Regions from separate parts of the Homo sapiens genome. Here region 1 is linked to region 2. Evidence: promoter capture Hi-C in human tissues and cell types (Jung and others, 2019). All regions are on one chromosome and are shown on one strand. Each heading gives the region's core, a stretch centred on a gene start or on the middle of the fragment in contact. The rest is flanking DNA. Distances are from core to core; before and after follow the strand shown.

What was found. Contacts are between HindIII fragments. The study calls those that stand out against the background at their distance.
Region 1: a fragment that was not itself captured here is called in contact with the fragment with the promoter of NCMAP in region 2 in 1 of the 25 tissues and cell types used here (lymphoblastoid cells).

What each region holds. Positions count from the first base shown.
Region 1 is chr1:24,161,764-24,165,319 of GRCh38, reverse strand. All of the region lies in intron 3 of IFNLR1 (interferon lambda receptor 1), which reads left to right. Among named protein-coding and RNA genes, the nearest start is that of IL22RA1, 20 kb to the right of the region's middle. The HindIII fragment of the contact is 5,076 bases long and covers 1-3,556 here.
Region 2 is chr1:24,554,661-24,558,308 of GRCh38, reverse strand. NCMAP (non-compact myelin associated protein) reads right to left here and starts at 2,222. Exons shown (of 4, transcript NM_001010980.5): 1 at 2,140-2,222. NCMAP-DT (NCMAP divergent transcript) reads left to right here and starts at 2,285. Exons shown (of 3, transcript NR_109781.1): 1 at 2,285-2,493. The HindIII fragment of the contact is 18,614 bases long and covers 1-3,648 here.

The sequences.
Region 1 (3,556 bases), core at 1,054-3,553, 390 kb after region 2:
ACTGGCAGAAAGCTTAGCAGAATTGTGTCCTGCAGTCATATGGGACACAGAGCTTGTAAATGATGAATTTGAATGCTTATCCGAGAAGGTTTCCAAATAAAATGTGGAAGGCACGGCCTGGTTTCTTCCTGCCTCTTATAGTAAAATGCAAGAGGAGAGAGAGAAAATGAGGGAAGAACTTAAACAGAAAGGAACCAGGACTTGATGATTTGGGAGGTTCTCAACCTATGCAAAAAACAATAAAATTAAGAGATTGTAGCTGGGCACAGTGGCTCATGCCTGTAATCCCAGCACTTTGAGAGTCCGAGGCGAGCAGATCACCTGAGGTCAGGAGTTTGAGACCAGCCTGGCCAATGTGGGGAAACTCCGTCTCTACTAAAAATACAAAAATTAGCTGGGTGTGGTGGCGGGCACCTGTAATCCCAGCTACTCAGGAGGCTGAGGTGGGAGGATCACTTGAACCCAAGAGGCGGAGGTTGCAGTGAGCCAAGATCATGCCACTGCACTCCAGCCTGGGTGGGTGACAGAGCAAGACTCCATCTCAAAAAAAAAAAAAAAAAGAGATTGCTCCCAAAAGTGTGACATAGAGAAACAGCCAAGTATGTGATTATACCAAACTTCAGGAAGATAAAAGATCAAAGTACTCAGTCGCTCAAAAGGCTCTTTGAAGAGATTAAGATTATAACTCACAGTCCCCTTCAATCAAACCAGGGGACTTCTAGGAAGCTGAACAGCATTGTCCCTCAGCCATCTCAGCTGGAGCCAAAAGTAGAGAAGGGCTTATCTGAAAAAAGGATCTGTGGACCTGGCTTTTATCTAATAATGCAGTGGATTCCCCCATGACATCCATAGGAGACCCGTAAAGTTCCTGAGACGTTTACATCCACAGAAACACTGTTAGCTTGGATTAAATGGAACACAGAGAGTATGAAATCAAAGAAGGCTGTTGGACTCTCCAGTTTCTACTGTTGAGATGCAGACTGGTAAAACTACTTAGCTGCAAACACCTGCTACCTTTAGTGAAAAGGAAGGATATCTCAGACGGTGAAACCAGAAGCTCAAAGGGCAGTGCTAAGAGCGAAAGAGAATTCTTCCCAGGCCTTGAAACCTAATGGAGTTTTCTTGGCTGGATTTTCAAACTGCATTGGACCATGACCTGATTGTCCCTTTCATGTCCCCATGCTTGAGCCAGATTGTCTGCAACTGTTATCCTGTGCCTGTCCCACATTTTATGTTGGGAGCAGAAAACTTTAGTTTTGCTGGCCCACAGATAGAGAGAAACTGTACCCCGAGAGTTGTACTGACTGGACTATGCCCAGAGTCTATTTGACTCTGACTTAGATACTGTTGATTTGGGAATTTGAGTTGATGCTGTAATGAGATGAGACTTTGGGGGACATTGGGATGGAGTGAATGGATTTTGCATTTGAAAGAGATGTGGGTTGGGTAATCCCAGCCCACACCTGTAATCCCAGCACTTTGGGAGGCCGAGGCAGGCAGATCACCTGAGGTCGGCAGTTCGAGACCAGCCTGACCACCATGGAGAAACCCCATCTCTACTAAAAATACAAAATTAGCCAAGCATGGTAGCACATGCCTATAATCCCAGCTACTCGGGAGGCTGAGGCAGTAGAATCGCTTGAACCCGGGAGGCAGAGGTTGCGGTGAGCCGAGATCACGCCATTGCACTCCAGCCTGGGCAACAAGAGTGAAACTCCATCTAAAAAAAAAAAGAAAAAAGAAAGAGATGTGGATTTTGGGTGGGGGACAGAGGGAAGACCATGGTAGGCAGAATGATCCTCTAAAGGTGCTCTGCCCTAATCCCCAGAAGCTAAGAATATGTTAGATGTCAGTATTGCGTGGCAGTAGGAATCTTAATTAACGTTATAGACTGTTATGGTTTGAATGTCCCCTCTAAAACTCCTGTTGACATTTAATCATCATTGTGATTGCATTAAGAAGTGGCCCTGTTAAAAGGTGATTTAGTCCTTAAGAACGCTGCCCCCATGAATAGATTAAGGTCAGTCTTGCGGGAGTGTGTTTATCAAGAATGGATTGTTAAAAAGTGAGTTCTGGCCAGGGGCAGTGGCTTATGCCACTCAGCACTTTGCGGGGCCAAGACTTGAAGTCAGTTGTTTGAGACCAGCCTGGCCAACATGGTGAAAGTCTGTCTCTACTAAAAAATACAAAAAGTGTCCGGGAGTGGTGGCGGGCGCCTGTAATCCCAGCTGCTCAGGAGGCCGAAGCAGGAGGATCGCATGAATCCGGGAGGCAGAGGTTGCAGTGAGCTGAGATCGCCCCGTTGCACTCCAGCCTGGGTGATAGAGCAAGACTCTGTCTCAAAAAAAAAAAAAAAAGAGGAAAGAAAGAAGAAAGAAAGAGAAAGAAAGAAAAGAAAGAAAAGGAAGGAAGGAAGGAAGGAAGGAAGGAAGGAAGGAAGGAAAGAAAGAAAGAAAGAAAGAAAGAAAGAAAGAAAGAAAGAAAGAAAAGAAAGAAAGAAGAAAAAAAGAAAGAAAAAAGAAAGAAAGAAAAAGAAAGAAAAAGAAAGAAAGAAAGAAAGAAAGAAAGAAAGAAAGAAAGAAAGAAAGAAAGAAAAGAAAGAAAGAAAGAAAAGAAAAGAAAAGTGAGTTCTGCCCTCTCTTGCTGGCTTACTCTCACCCTCTCTTGCCCTTCCACCTGCCACCATGGGATGACACAGCACAAAGGCCCTCACCAGATGCCAGTGCCATGCTCTTGGACTTCCAAGTCTCCAGAAACATGAGCCAAATACACTTCTGTTCATTATAAATTACCCAGCCTGTGATATTCTGTAATAACAACACAAAATAGACTGAGACATAGATCTTCAAATAGTGAGGTTATCCTGGATAATCCAGATGGGCCCAATCTAATCCCATGAGCCTTTAAAACTTTCTCCAGATGGAGGCAGAAGAGAAGTGGCAGAAGGGGAAGTCAGAGAGATTTGAAGCATAAACAGGACTCCATGGTGCCGTTTCTGGTTTGACGATGGAGTGGTAACGTGATGAAAAATGTGGGTGCCTTCCGGAGCTGAGAGGCTCCCACTAACAATCGGCCAGGAAACAGGGACCACAGCCCTACAGCCACAAAGAACTAAGTTTTGCTGACAACCCAAGGGGGCTTGGAAGTGTCTTCTCCCCCATCGGTTCCAGATGTGAGACCCAGAGCGGAGGAACCAGCTGAGCCCACCTGGACTTCTGACCTAGAGAACTGTGAGATAATAAGTTTGTATCATTTTTAAGGCACTGTGTGTGTGGTAATTTGTTATGACAGCAATAGAAAATGAATCCAGATGGGCAGGATCTGCCAGGCCAGTGACATGTGGAGGGCACCCAGGCGGATGGGATGGCATGAGAGAAGGCAGGTCAGCAATGAGCTTGCCCAGGTCACCTCTCCTCTCTAAGCCTCAGTTTTCCTCTCTATGAAATGAGAGTAGTGATATCTCCCTCCCAGGGTCAGTGCAAGGCTGAAATAACAGATTATAAGGTGCTAGGTGCACAAGAAGTGTTTGAAACATGCTAGTTGCTTTTCCATTTCC
Region 2 (3,648 bases), core at 973-3,472:
CAAAGTGAGAAGCAAGGCAGCCTTGCTCCCTGCTTTTCTAGAGCTTAGGGCAAAACACCGATATTAAACAAGGGTTGTTGGCAATTATGGAAAGTGCTACAAGGAGAAGCTTCGAACTTGGCCCCCTTAGGGGGTCCAGCGCCTCCCAACTGTTCATGTACTCCTCCAGTCTCCACCTGCACTTTAGAACTTTGCTTCTCACATATTCGTGGTCAACCCAGGGAGATGGAAACCCACTGCAGCTGCCTGCCAGGACGTCACAAAACTGAAACTAGCTTTGCTTAGAGTGGCTCTACCTCAAGGACACAGCTCCTTCCTGACTTCAGGCAGGAATGGCCATAGTCCACATGGTGCTACGGAGCCCAGGAACTGGCCCAGGGGATAAGCTGTTGATAGGAAACCACTACACTAGATTCCCACAGAGCCCAGCCAGTTCCTCAAGCCCAGCTCACTATATGCCCAGCTCACCGCACGCGCCGCGGCTGGCTGGCTTGGCACCATGCTGCCTCCCCACAGCTCATCTCGGCCCCAGCCAGCACAGAGCCCAGCAGGGACAAGGTGAAGAAAGCCACAGGCCATGAAGGGGTCATGGGAACCCCCTTCCCATTTCCTCCTCCCCTCCCACCAGGCATTCATGGTCCTTTGGTGTCTCTTGGCTGCCCTTCTGTCCCCTCTCCCCACTTAGAGGACATGAGTAAAGGTATTGGCCTACCTAGAGTTCCTGCCCCATCATCCACTCCCACGGGCTGATGGGACTCAGGATTCCAGGGTATTATGTGCCCTCTTCTATCCCGGTGCTCTGGCTGTGCCTGTCACTTTCTACTACCACCACCAACACACACACGCACACACACGCACACACGTGCACACACCCACATGCACACACATGCACACAAGCGCACACACACACACATGCACACATACACACATGCACCATAAGAGGGGGTGCCTATAATCTGTTGCTCTTGGCTTCTGCTTATAACTGTTCCATCCACCTAGACCACTGTCTCTAGTATCCATACCCACCTCTTAGAACCAGCCATCTGTAAATTCACTATTTGTGCCAAGCATTGTACTTCATATGCATTCATTCATTCATTGGACAAATATGTATTGAGACCTACTGCATGCTGGGCACCGTGCTGGTGCTGGGGATACAAGGGTGAACCAAATAGGCATCATCCCTGCCCCCAAGCAGCTGCTAGCAGACATTAATAGCTCATGTTCATTGAGTGCCTACTATATACCCACCCTGTATTAAACACTTTATGAGTTATCTGATTTAATCTGTCAGAGAAATTGTTTCATTTAAGGAGCACATCAAACTGAAACATAGAGAAAAGTGTGGACTTGCCCGAGACTGTTGGACGGCCTTGGCTGAGGGGTAAAGCAGGGACTCCAAAGCGCTGCCCTAACCACCACCTTTCCTTTCCCTGCCCCACTCAGATGCCACCTCCTCCAAGGGGCCTTCCAGAATCTTCTCCCAGACTCAAGGGCTGCCTTGGTCTCTCTAATCCAGCCTTCATATTTGACACAGCCATCTCCTCCCACAAGGATACCCAGAGGACTGGAGCCGTCTCTGCATCCTTCCTCAGGAGCGCTGCTGGATGAGCGACCCCCGAGCCCCTCCAAACGTGCTGTGGATGGAAACTACGGCCCTGGGCTCCTTCTCTGCCGTGGGTTTTCATCTCGCTGAATCGCAGATCTTCCGGAGGGGCCTCTGCATAGGGCAGACCCATCAAGGCGCCCATTTAACAGATGGGGCGGATAAGGCCCCAAGTGGGTAAAAGTTCCTTTATCTCCAGGCCGGGTCAAGGTCGACTCCCTTTTCTTCCAGCGAGCCTCGGCCCCTCCGCCAGATGCTTGGGTGGGGAGGGGACAAGGAAACGACCTCGTCTCCAAGACCCACTGGAGATGATCAGCCTCCCTCCCACCACCCCGGACCAACGCCCTCCCGCGCAGACCCCAGGCACTTCCTCCAACAGATGTGGGGGTGAGACTGGGGACCCCTCGTCCCCACCCCCGGGCCCTCCTTCGCCCAGCGCGGCCGGCAGGTGGACAGGAAGCCACCGCACCTGGGCCGGACCGCTCCTCGCTCCCCGCAGCCCCGGGCAACCCCGGCGACCAGGCGCCTCCTACCTGCTCTGTCGAGCCCCGCTCGGCCTCCCGCCGGCACCGCCGCGCTCCCAGCCAGGGTCCCCGCCGCCGCCCGGCGCTGCCACCCTGGGATCCCGCCCCCGCCCGGGGCGTCCCGCCCCCGGCCCCGCCCCGTGCAGGTGATCCTGGGGAGGCCGGAGAACGCGCCGGGGGTGCCAGGGTCCCGCACACTGGAGTGGCGGCGCCTCCCCGTGGTGTCCCCGCTCCTGGGTCCTTTTTGGGACTGGCTCTGGCACTCCCGGGCACTCAGTCCAGTAGAGAAGTCCAGCAGGAGGCTTCCAGGTCGGACTCCTCCGCGGGGTAAAGAGAGGGAAAGGGCCTCACAAACACACCCAGGTGAGCTCCAGGCACTTTGAGTAGGGTCTTTAAAGGAGCACGGCGCTAATCTGATTGAAGGTTTTGAGGGGCAGCTGGAGATTCAGACAACCACAGAACGTTAGACCGGGAGGAAACAGGCTTGGCAGCCGGCAAGTGTCAAGAACTCTTGCCGCTGTAGGATCAAAGGCTCCTTCCTCCCCAGGCTGTCGAGATTCCAGCTGTATCCCAGGAGCCCAGGGCGATATCCCTGGCAGGCAGCGGGTACTCAATCAATATTTATAGAAAGCGGGAAGAGATCTCGGAGAGGGGATCTCTTCTCTCAGAAACAGGGAAGCTGAGGCCCAGGAAGCAAAGGTGAGCACAAAGTCTTATAGCAGGTTAGTAACAGTATCAGGAGTGGAGGCTGGTTTCCCGGTTCTATTTTCAATTGATTTCCAGAAAGTGATTGCATCTGGGCCGACTGCCTTGCCGCTCAGTGCCTGTGAGATGCTTTCAAACTCTCCTCAGCTAAGAACTAAGATTTTTATAGGAAGAAAACACGTATTTTTATAGGAAACTCCAAGGTAGTATTTATTTATTTATTTATCTTTGAGACAGGATCTCACTCTGCAGCCCAGGCTGGAGTGTGGTGGCACAATCTCGGCTTACTGCAACCTCTGCCTCCTGGTTCAAGCGATTCTCTTGGCTTAGCCTCCCGAGTAGCTGGGATTACAGGCACATGCCACCACACCCGGCTAATTTTTTTGTGTGTGTATGTATATATATATTTTGGTAGGGACAGGGTTTCACCATGTTGGCCAGGATGGTCTTCAACTCTTGACCTCAAGTGATCCACCAGCCTTGGCCTCTCAAAGTGCTGGATGAGCCACTGCTCCCAACCCATTTTATTTTATGGAGACTGGGTCTTGCTCTCCTGCCCCAGCTGGAGTGCAGTGGCGGGATTTCGGCTCACTGCAGCCTCTAACTCCTGGGCTCTAGCGATCCTCCCACCTTGGCCTCCCAAAGTACTGGAATTACAGGCATGAGCCACCATGCCCAGCTGCAAGGTGGTATTAACAAATATTGATTGAGAGTATAATCCTGTAATTCTACTTTCTCATCAAAGACTTGAGACACTTGAGTATGGTCTTTAAGGAGCATGGTGCTAATCCATGGCTTCAAGAGCTTCCCTGT